Regions from separate parts of the Homo sapiens genome. Here region 1 is linked to region 2. Evidence: promoter capture Hi-C in 16 types of primary human blood cells and fetal thymus (Javierre and others, 2016). All regions are on one chromosome and are shown on one strand. The core of a region is centred on a gene start or on the middle of the fragment in contact, and the rest is flanking DNA. Distances in the headings are between cores, read along the strand shown. Region 1 holds the start of ANGPTL5 (angiopoietin like 5). Region 2 holds the start of MMP20 (matrix metallopeptidase 20).

Region 1 (5,933 bases), core at 1-2,500, 710 kb before region 2:
GCTGAAGTGAAGGATGCTGGCGGGGAGGCCCGGAACCCGGAGCGCGGTCGGGGAACTGGGCACTGAATCATCGGACAACCTCGACAGAGCCCCCCTCGGCCCTCGGGAGAGCGGCGGGCATCACCGACCTGGCTCTTACCTGTATCCTTCCCAGCCTGTGGCTGCCAGGGTAGCGATGTTGAAAACGGGGCCCATCTTTTTCCAATTAGATTCCCATTACCTTTGACGCAGGGTGATCAAAACTAGCAAGTCATCTTAGTGCAGATATTTCCTTTAGCAACTGTCGTGTCTCACCTTAGACCTGAAATTATACCATTTTATCTAATTCTGTGGCTGCTTCCCCCCATCACCCTGTTATCCTACTCCCATTCTTCAACTTTGTAAAATTTTTGTGAATTTTAAAACACATCAACTGTGTATTCTGTGGGGATATTTTTATGCCATTATGTTCTTTACTTACATATTAACTACTTCCTGATTTATCGTACTACTTGGAGAGAGAAATTACACAAATAAGTAAAATGTTTTGCTATCCTAAAGAGTCCGTTTTAACAGTTATCCTAACACAGCCCTAAATGCATTTACCAGAGCTGCTAAAGGCTACACAGTTTGGTAAGTTGTTTTGTTTTCCATCTCTGCCCAGTCTGTTGTCAGAGCGACAGAAAAGAGGAAATGAGAAACAGGGGACCTGGACGCTTTACAATCTGGATTAACTCTGACTTTTCTCGAAGAGTTGGTTAAGCCTACCTTTGATGTTGCTGTTGGTTGCATTGTAGAAAATGGAAAGAGGAGAAGTATTTTGTTATCAAAATCTGTAAATCAGGTTTATTCCTTTAGAGACTGTTGTGATGATTAGGATTTAACCTTTGTATTCCCAAAGGACTTGGTTGGCAATGATGGTGTTGTGTAATCATCTTCAGTCTTGTCAGAGATGAGTGTCTTCTCTTTCCAAGTTAACTCTGTTTTCTTATCCCCTTTGTCTCCAATTTCTAGGATGTTCTTTGTACTCTGTTACAATTTTAGCAGCAAGTCAACAATTTGTATTGAGTGCCTGCTCTTTGGCTGACTCTGTTCTAGGTTCTAGGGATACAAATCTAGTGAGGAAGACAAATGTGTATAGAGCTTCACTAAAAGTAAAATATCTCTTCTCCGATCATGCTTTCTGCAATCTTCCATCCCTTCAGTCTTTTCTTTCTTTGGGCAGGTTCTCAAAATGGTAGCTTGCAATAGCTGCTTCTAGTTCCTCTCATCTATTCATTATTAACCCCATTCAGTTTGGCTTTTGCCCTTGCTGCTCCCCAAAATTGCCCTCTTAAAGGTTACTCTGAAATGAACACAATCATTTTCTGTATGGATTTAATTCTGGCCTCTTGACATTATATTTTCTTGGACACAACTGCTATTACACGACCCTGATTTATCTCTAAATCAGAAAATAGGGAAGTATTGTAAATGGCTCATTGAGAGTGTATTTTCTGTTATTTTCATTAATAAAATGGTTGTAGGCCTCATTTTTTAAATTTTATGTGGTATAAATTTTTGATACAAATGCCAAAGAAAATATTCATAAATAGAATCCAGCAATACTTTGAATGAACACAACCAAATAGACTCTATTCCAGAATTAGAATGACATTTCCTATAAAGAAATACAACACTAAAAAAGATCCTTAAAGGCTAAATATATAGTTAAAATTAGGCAAGTTATAAATGAACATTTTAATAGATGACCAATAGACTTTGATAAAATCCAACAATGTGTGTGTGTGTGTGTGTGTGTGTGTGTGTGTGTGTGTGTGTGTGTGCTGGTTTATATATATTTTTGCTAGTTTGCATATGTGTGTATATATATGTTTAGATAATATATATTTAAATTGGAACAGAGGAATTATTTTTGAACATAATAAAGATTATAACACTAAATCAAGAACATTATGTTTGCTAGCTGGAAAAACACTAAAGTACCTTTTATATAAGTTTAATTGGAATGTTCTTTGTGTCTATAATGTTTCCCATTGGATACCTAGCACAGAGTAGGTGCTCAAATTTACATGACTAAATGAAAAAAAGGAAAGAAAGCAAATGAAAGGACCACAGCCTTAAAATAAGCAAGTATGTGGTAACATTTACATTTCAATTTCAAATATGAACATGATACTCAGAGGCCATCTGGCTTTCTGTTGAAGACATTTTCTCACTGGAGTCAGAATTTTCTGACTCTAAAGGTTATAAAACAACAAAACCTTATGAAGTTTATTTAATTAAAATTAGCTAAAGTTCTGTCATTTCAATCTCTTTTTCTCTTTTGAGAGTTCAAATAGAAATGGAATTTAAAAAAAAAAAAAAAAGGAAGGTCTCTCATGTCCCCTTATACCTGCCTTTTTTTCCTCATAAATATCTCTACCCTTCAACCCTCCCATTTTATCCTAGCACCCACCTTGCCTCTCCTTTCCTCTCCAGTTTATACCCTATTCTTAACTATTTGAACTTTCTCTCACCAACATCTTTGGCTATTTGTACCCCAATCATTCTGCCTCAGCCACTCAATAACTACTATAGTCCTGCTCCTTTACTCCTTCATGCGAATAATAAAAATGCTGTCAAAGAAAAATCACAAAACAATACAGATTGTACCACTAAAGATTGATGGTTTCCAGCTTCACCTAAACAGGAACAGGGTTCTTTCTTTTTCCTATGAATGCCTCTGCCAGGTCTCTGTCACCTTCCATCACACTCGATAGACTGTCTTACCACTTGATAAGACTTGGATGCCCTGACAGGTCTGTTCCAACAAACAGCACAAACACACACACTCCCACCCACCTGTCTTTTTTTCCCCCCAGGCTCACTGATGGGATCTTACTTTTACTATAGAAAGTGAAGTGAACCCATTCAGCTGGGCCCAGTGGCTCACATCTGTAATCCTAGCACTTTGGGAGGCCGAGGTAGGCAGATTGCTTGAGTCCAGGAGTTCGAAACCAGCCTGGGCAACGTGGTGAAACCATATCTCTACAAAAAATACAAAAATTAGCTGTGTGTTGTGGTGCATGCTTGTAGTACCATCTACTTAAGAGGCTGAGGCAGGAAGATTGCTTGAGACTGCGAGGTGGAGGTTGCAGTGAGCCGAGATTATGCCACTGCACTCCAGCCTAGGCAACAGAGTGAGACCCTGTCTATAAATAAATAAATAAATTGTATTTTGCTAATACATACATAATAAAACATAGTTTTGTACCTTGTGTTTCTAAAAGGTACTGCCCCATGCTCATGAGATTTTGAAACTTAGGTACATAATACATTTCTAATGGCATATACTTTTGTATAACCCCCTTAGGAGCCAAGTTTTCTATAATGCACTAAAAGATATAAAAATGCATATGCCTTTTGTCCTCATATCTACCCCAGAGAATTTTCTCCAAGGGAATAATTCAGGAGGTTTTTATTAAATCATTACTATATTCTAAGAACCATGCCAGGCGTGAGAGTTACAGAAATGTAGAGAAGACACTTATCATGTACTCATGAAGGTGTCATCAAGTCATCTAGTGGAGGTTAGAAAAGGCTTCAAGGTAGAACGAACTGCTTGAGATGGCCCTGAAAGGATGAGTAGAGTTAGCCAAGCATGTGCCAAGAGATAATGGTATGATACATCACGGGTTGTTCTGTTTATAATTATCTTAGTGCGTCTGGACATAGGATTCATACAGGGAAATGTTAAGAAATAAAGTTGAAAAAACAAACTATATTATAGAATGGTTTATATATAGGTCCAAGAACTTTGGAATTTTTCATGAAGGTGATAGGGAGCTTTTGGAGAACAACAAAGAGAAACACAATCAGATTTGCATTTAGCTGACTTTGTGTAGGTTCAAATAGAGGTTTAGAGTAAGAAGAATTAGAGGAGCACTGTAGTCGTCCAAGCAAGGGATTTAGAGTACCTGAGTTAAGGGAGAGGAAGAAGGTACAGTAGAGGAAAAATCGAATCAACATAGCTTTAATAGATTTGGGGAAAAAATGGGTTATATAATACATAGTTATTTGTGATGGCAACATTTTAAACAACCTAACTGGATAAAAGACTAAGTTGGGAGAGGAGAAGTGAGGATAGAGTGGGGTAGAATAAGCTATGCTTTAAAATCACATGTTACAATACATATTATTCTTGGTTTTGTTTTTTTAATGTTAAGTATATAAAAATTCCCTTCTTTTGGACAGGTATTTAGCAGTGTTTTTTTTATGGAACTCCTACCTTTACCATACAGCTTGTATAAAAAAACAAAATTTAACCAGCCATCTAATTTTTTTAAACTTGAATACCATATTTGAAATGATACAAAAGCAGCAGGATTCTTTATATTAATAATTAATAATTCAGCAGGAAACATACTATACTATTATACTTATATATAAAGAAAGTAGAAAATCATTTGGTTAAATTGAAGACTATATAGTTGTCAGAACATTACAAACATTACATTTGTGATTTTCTTTATGCTGTCGTGATGAGACTTCAAACATGTCAAACAGAGAACAGAACTGTCTCCTCCTTGCTTCTCACTTAAGCCAAAGCATCTTCCTCCCCTCAACCTCATGTTGGCCCTGTGCACCCTGAAAGGAAGTTGCACTTTTCTTTACTGCCGAGTTGTCACTTTTAATACCTAGACATCTTGTTGAAGTCTGGCTCTTGTTAAAATATTCTATCAGAGAAAAACAGTTTTTCTGTGCTAGCAAAGAACCAAATTTTCTTCCCTTTTGGTTTGATTTTTATAAATCCTTTAAAAGAAATCTTTAAGTAAAAATATGTTTGTGAGTGTGTTTGGGTCTTTGTCTTGAAGTAGTGTAAAATTTTATTTAAAATGAAGGTAAAATGAATTATGGCCTATGGTATAAAGATGGTTAAATAGCAACACAAAAGAAAACAAATAAGCCCCCATCAGCAAAGGTCTAAACAACAAAATGTTCAAATAAACCTGTTATTCTGAAATATGTAATAATAGAGTTTCTTTATAATATTGATGCTGAAGCACTATAGGATCCTGAAATTAACATGTTGAATTAACAAATTATGTACCGCATAGTTTATTATTGAGTGTATTTCTAGTATTCTGTTTTACCATTAATAATCAATTTATGAGATTTTTACAATCTTGATTAAATGCAGCCTTTAAAGAGAATTTTGGACCTCCATCTTAGCGTAAAAAGTTTTTAAACAAGCTGTTTGTTCTAAAAAAGACAAATAGATATGCCCTACAATCTATAACTTCAGTATAATCTCATATATTTCTACATCTAATGATGAGGTACTAAATGTGATTACACGGTAATTCAATGAACTTTTTTTTTTTTTTTTGAGACAGAGTCTCGCTGTGTTGCCCAGGCTGGAGTATAGTGGCGTGTTCTTAGCTCACTGCAGACTCAACCCCCTCCAAGCTCAAGCGATCTTCCCACATCAGCCTCCCAAGTAGCTGGGGCTGCAGGCATACACCACCACACCTGGCTGATTTTTGCATTTTTTGTAGAGCCGGGGTTTCACCATATTGCCCAGGCTCATCTCAAACTCCTGGGCTCAAGCAGTCTGCCCACCTTGGCCTCCCAAATTGTTGGGATTACAGGTGTGAGCCACTGCGCCCAGCCAAATGAACTTCTTTTAATTCAAAATCATTAAAAACAGAAGACTCATGAAAAACAGAAAATTACTCTGACAAATTTGATAAAGATACTTAATAATGTCAATTAAAACGCAACTAAATAAATTGGAGAAATTACTCATATTGCTACAACTTATTTAAGGAGAGTTTAATTTTATAAAATAAATTTCAAGTGAATAGATGATTAGGATAACCAAAATATTCCTCTTTTTCTCTGACAAGCTTCTGGATACACAGATGACTATACATAGTTTTCCTAGTGGTTTTTTATAACCACTAAGTCAC
Region 2 (6,064 bases), core at 2,864-5,363:
CTTCCCATGTTATGGCTACATGGCTGTGATAACAAGTGGAAATGTACGCCTGCACCCTAAACTCGCTGAGTCACGCAGGATGTTTACCTTGGCCTATGCCCGCTTGGCTGCAGCACAGCCATGTTCCTTACAGTCACACAAATAGATTTGTGAGAACTTTTAAAGCTGTCTGAAAAATCCTAGGTTCTAGTCCAGGCTGTGTCACTAACACGCTTGGGCAATTCTTTTAATTTCTTGTGGTTTCAGTTTTCTCATCTATAGAGTGGTTTCTGCCCTACTGGCTACGTGAGTGTGAGGATCCAATGAGGTCCTCAATATGAATGCTTTTAAATGTGACAAAATACTTTCAAATGCCCTTTTACTCATTAAGTCCATGTCTGGAAACCTATCCTGAAAAAATAATTGTTTAAATTAGCTTGATGTACAAAGATGCTTATAGAAGCCTTATTCATATGGAAGTAATCTATTTGTTAAAGGAAATGGTCAAATAAATTATAACTCATATTCTGGAATATTTCTGACTGTTTAAAGTGATGTTATGAAAATAGTATAAAACCAAAATTTTCTTATGACATAATAGTTAGAAAAGTAAAAACCACATTTTGAAGACAGTAACAATTTTAAAAAGTCTTTATCATAGAAAATAAAATGGTAGTAAAAACACCTGAATTAACAGTGTGTATTTTCATTTTCCTTAGTTATGAGTTCATAATAATGTGGTAGTTAAAATTTTTATTTTTAAGCATAATTTAAAAAGTATGTTTTAAATGTCATATTGACACTAATTTTGTTTAACAAACAAACAAACCCAGAATAAAATCCTGGATTATGAGAATAGGTAAGCATTTTGCCATCTTACCATTTTCAAAGCATTTAGGCAAATTAGCAAATCAGAATTTAAAGGACACAAGTGGACATTAAATAAATCAAGAAGCTGTTTATCTTTTCAAGTGTAGATTTTTTAGGGGAGGGAGAGGTGTATGGTGTTTGGAAACGTGGCCTCTCTGGTGTTTCCAGGAGCCATTTGTTCTTTCTTAGCGAGTGACCTAACAGATCACTTAGCAAGAAGAGAGCATCCCTAAGCACTCTCTCTGCTTAGCGTGACCCAGGCCACCAGGCACCAGAGGACCTGCTGGCCTCACCTGTCCTTGGGACTCCTCTGGGACCCTCTTTCCTGACCTCTGAGCTCTAGTCACATGGGCCTGATGATTGCATTCCAAGCAGCTGCTGTTTCCTCCGTCTGGACTGCCCCATCTCCAGGTCTTCACGTGACTGGCTCTTTCATGCAGCTCAGGTTCATCTCAAAGTTCACTTCCTCCGAGAGGACTTCCTGGACTACGCCATTAAAAATACTCCCTCACCAGACCACTGTCCCAGTCAGCAACACTCTGTCATCCTGATTAACTTCTTTCCAGGCTCACTGATCACTTTCTGAAACATCTTGTGCACTCATTGGTTGACTTGTTTATCTTCTCCCAGCACCTTCCCACCAGCTCCCTCATCCTCATGGAAGGAGCATAAGAACAGGGGCTTGATTTGTTTGATTCTCTCATATTTCTCCAGCATATGCCATGCTGTAAGCATTCAATACATGAACTTATGCTGCCTATTTTACTGCTTTTGTTTGTGATTTTATGAGGCTGATGAGGTTGTTATATAATGTTTCTATAAATTATAAGGTGGGATGTTATTAAATAATTGTTTCCTGTCATTGTGATCCTCATTAGAGGTTCAGCCAGATCATTCCAGGCTCCTGAGTGTCCCTGCCCAGAGCTGAGGACCAGGGCCATTGCAAGCAAAGGTGCTGTGTGTCAGGTGAGGAGATGTGGACAAGTTTCCCTGCTCCTTGGTCTAAGGTCTTTCTGAGAGTATGTCATAAGGGAGACAGAGAAGGGTTGATTTATTTTGGAGAGGAAGAAGTAAGGAATCACTAAAGGTCCCCAATATTCCCAGGCCATGCTACTGTTTCTAAACGTGCCTAGCTGACTCCTGACCAGCTAGAATAGCAAGAGTGACTCCACCCAAGAGTGTCTAGCCCAGGGGTCCCCTGATCCTGGGCTGCACCCGGAAACCAGTCTGTGGCCTGTTAGGAACCTGGCCCCACAGCAGGAGGTGAGTGGCGGGCCAGCATTACTTCCTGAGCTCTGCCTCCTGTCAGATCAGCAGAGTCATCAGATTCGCATAGGAGCAGAACCCTATTGTGAACTGCATGTGTGAGGGACCTAGGTTGCATGCTCTTTTGAGAATCTTATGCCTGATGATCTGAGGTGGAACAGTTTCGTCCCAAAACCATCACCCCTCCAGCCTCCTACTTCCCACGTCCATGAAAAACTGTCTTCTATGAAACTGGTGCTTGGCTGGTCTAGCCTTATTCCTTAATAGACTGGTCAGGGGTGACTAATTTTTTCTGCAAAGGACCAATAATTAATATTCTTTGCTTCTAGGCTAACCTCTGCCATTGTGGCACAAAAGCAATCATAGACAATCTGTAAACTAAGGGGCAGGGCCAACTGTAGTTTTCCTGAACTGTGGATTAGAAGGGGGGTCTCCCAACACCTCAGATCCATTCTGGCCTCAGCATGGCTCTCCTTCTGGAGGTCACAAAACCTCTTTAGTTTCAGAATCACAGTGGCATGAGGCAGGGTAGGGAAAATTACATTTGGGAAGAAGGCACCTAAAGCTAGGTGGCATGGACAAAATACAATTGAATAAGGATCCCAGTATCCTGAGTTATTTTGAATTTAGTTCATCTAAAAGTGGGCTAAAGTCAAAAGAAGTTCAGTTCAACATGGTTGTGCTGGGCATCAGCTGTGCTGTTCATCTGCGGGGCTGATATTTAAGTGTTTAATGACTGGTATGGCCGGGGAACTGACCAGTTAATAAGGATGAGTGGCAGAAACAATCGGTAGGGACATGCCATTGCACATGGGTGCAAATCAGCTCTACGATGCAGACAGCCAAGCGGTACACAGGTGCAGCCTGGCAGTCAGGAAAGCAGCCCTGAGGCGGAGCTGGTGATCACAGATGTGCTGTAATGTTGGCAGACTCTTGAAAGGGAGGCCTGTGTGCAAAAGCATTTCCTCTATATATCTTTCACTAATGTTGGAAATTCCATCCGTAGACATCCATTTCTTTAGGTTAAGGATGCCACCCTTCTTTTAAAAACAAAACACGCTTGGAAGCATATATATATATATATATATATATATATATATATATATATATATATGTAGAAATCATTTTGAGTCAAGCAGTCTTTGTGAAATATTTGAATATGGATCATTTCTATCAGACCCTTTCCAGCAGTCATAGAGGAGAGATCTCAAAAGAGGAAAATACACAAAGTTTAAGTACATAAACGTTGTACTTTGTACTTACTACATAAACTTTGTTATGTACTTTGTACATAAACTTTTACTTCATTGGGGAATATGCTTTAGGGAGAAAAGGCCTTCAAATGAGAAGTGGGTTGGCACCCAGGAAGAACTTAGTCCACTTTAAATTTTGATCAGGGTTACCTTGAATATAAGAGCCATTTAAAAAGTGGAAACACAGGAAATCTCCTTGTTGTGACCGCTAAAGCTTAGCACTAAATTCACAACCTGCCTCTAGCGTGTGGATTATGCCTCGGTTTTTATTTTTCTGCTTCTATTTTTCCTCCTACATCATTCCCGGGAAGTACTTGTTTGCTCCTTTTATATTGCATGGTTTTCACAAGCCACCTGGAATTCTTTATGAAGCAAGATAGCTAGGTAGATATATCCTCATGTATTTATTCAGTCATGTAACATGGTACACCTAATATGCACCAGACACCAATCTAGGTGGACAGAAGATAGCATCAGTTAGACTTCAATGGACTTATATAAAATGATTTTAAAAGAACAATAGAATTTTTTTCTTATTTTCTCACTATGCCCTTTTAGGTTTTCTAGGGCAGAGGAGCAAGAAGGAATTGGGCAAAAATTCACAAACCTGTGCGAGGCGGTAGTTGTTCCTCCAGGTCCTGGGGGAGGCTGCAACTAGGGAGGGGGCTGCAGTGGAAAACTTCAAAGCCATGATGAGGAAGACAGCAAGGCCAGATGCAGGGAGCACCTTCATCCCCTCACAGTAGCTTGGTAATTATATCAGCCTGGGGGATGGCAGACAGTGCACGTTTGCACTTCGACCTTGAGCTCCTTTTATAGAGTCAAACAGGTCTGGACCCTCCGAGCAAGGATGATTCATGTCTCAAACAGTAATTATACAGCTCATTTCTCTCCCTGATGATGGGGTAACACAACTGTACACAGGAATCAGGGAAAGCTTCATATTTTTTTTGTTATTTACCAAGTGGCAAAAGGAGAAAAACAGTCACTTTTAATGAAGTTGGTCAGCTAGTTACAAAAATTGAAGTAAACTTGATTGATTTGAACCCAACTCAACTGAAACATTTGATTAGTCTTCATTTGGGGGCCTTTTTCCATTCTGATTACAGAAAAGTTAGATGATTACAGTATAATTGAATTTGTCCTCCAAGTAATCCCAAACTCCCCATGCATTCAACCCAATCGCCTGTATCTCCTGCATTCACTTCAAAATTTCTTAGTAGCAACTGCTGTTCATAATGATGGCTCTGAGACACATAAGATCCTGAATCATCAAGGCAAGATTACATTATACTGTGCTGACTTAGGGTGGAAAGTGAACTGGTAACTGTTAGAAAGCTTTTGGATGAATTAAGGCAAGAGTTACGTCTTCGTTAACCAAAACAATAGCCAGAACTCCCCAATCTCTGTGTACTCTGGTTAATTGGAGTCATATTGTTTTTCCTGGGTCTGATTAAGATGGATTTGGATCCAGAGATGATACGGTGAAATGGTGTCATATGGTGGGAAAAGCACTTAGAGTCAGACAAAGCAAGACTAAATATTTAAAAAGATATTTCCTAGCTGTGTGATGTTGGGTATGTCATTTAATCTCTGAATATCAAGTTTTTTTTAATCTACAAAAGACTGACAATACTACTACTATGTATAAACTTTTCAGTGTTATGGAGTAACACATATAGCATGACATCTGCAAGCACCACTTGGCATCCACTAGATGTGGATTCAAATCCTAATTTTGATTTTAGACTAAATTCAAGGTTATTCCTATAGTGAATACAGTGAATTCCTATAGTCTTTCTCACTCTGTTGCATTTTGATATGCTTTCTTTGCATGGAAGAGAAGATGGTGGAGTTACAGCCAATGTTTGGTATCTAGTGTACAACCCCAGGCACTGAACAAGAGTTTGTCACACATTAATATGGTTTGGCTCTGTGTCCCTAACCAAATCTCATCTCGAATTGTAATCCCCATGTGTTGAGGGAGGGAGGGGATTGGATCATGGGGGTGGTTCCGTCATGCTGTTCTCATGACAATGAGTGAGTTCTCACAAGATATGATGGTTTTATAGGTGTTTGAAAGTTCCTCCATTGATCTTCTCTCTCCTGCTGCCTTGTCAAGAAGGTGCCTGCTTCCCCTTTGCCTTGCACCATGATTCTAAGTTTCCTGAGGCCTCCCCAGCCATGTAAAACTGTGAGTCAACTAAGCCTCTTTCCTTTATAAATTACCCAGTCTCGGGTATTCCTTTATAGCAGTGTGAGAATGGACTAATACACACAGGCAAACAGAATTTCTGGCATGTACTGTGAGATAGACAAAACATGTGTCTCAGAAGAAGAAAAAAGAAAACCACAGATTAGATTCATTCAACTAAATTGTAAGCTGTTTGAAGACTGTATTCTAAAAAATGTTACTTAATCAAGTTTGTTAAAAAAAAAGAATGAATGAATGTACAAACATATACTAATCATTGCTTTTTGGTTTCAGGAAAGGAATAGGATATTGCAATAATTTTTCAAAATTTGCATTTATATGGTCTCCTGTCTTCTAGAGCCTTATCTTCAACAGCTGCTAAAATTGAAGAACAAAAAGAATCTTTGAAACTTCCCTTCAACTGGTCATCCTCTTCCCTTTTTCTCTCCTTTAAACACTGTTCCAATTCATTATGATGGCCCCAAAGCAAAGACAGACATGG

Evidence for each region. Contacts are between HindIII fragments. The CHiCAGO score rates a contact against its expected background, and 5 or more counts as called.
Region 1: a contact is called between the fragment with the promoter of ANGPTL5 here and the fragment with the promoter of MMP20 in region 2, in 1 of 17 cell types (activated CD4 T cells). The highest score is 5.3, in activated CD4 T cells.

Annotation. Positions count from the first base shown.
Region 1 is chr11:101,915,272-101,921,204 of GRCh38, forward strand. ANGPTL5 (angiopoietin like 5) reads right to left here and starts at 1,251. Exons shown (of 9, transcript NM_178127.5): 1 at 748-1,251. It overlaps CEP126 (centrosomal protein 126), which reads left to right. Exons shown (of 11, transcript NM_020802.4): 1 at 1-141. The coding sequence starts at 14. The HindIII fragment of the contact is 9,032 bases long and covers 1-5,868 here.
Region 2 is chr11:102,621,219-102,627,282 of GRCh38, forward strand. It overlaps MMP20 (matrix metallopeptidase 20), which reads right to left and starts at 4,114. Exons shown (of 10, transcript NM_004771.4): 1 at 3,976-4,114. The coding sequence starts at 4,101. The HindIII fragment of the contact is 723 bases long and covers 3,581-4,303 here.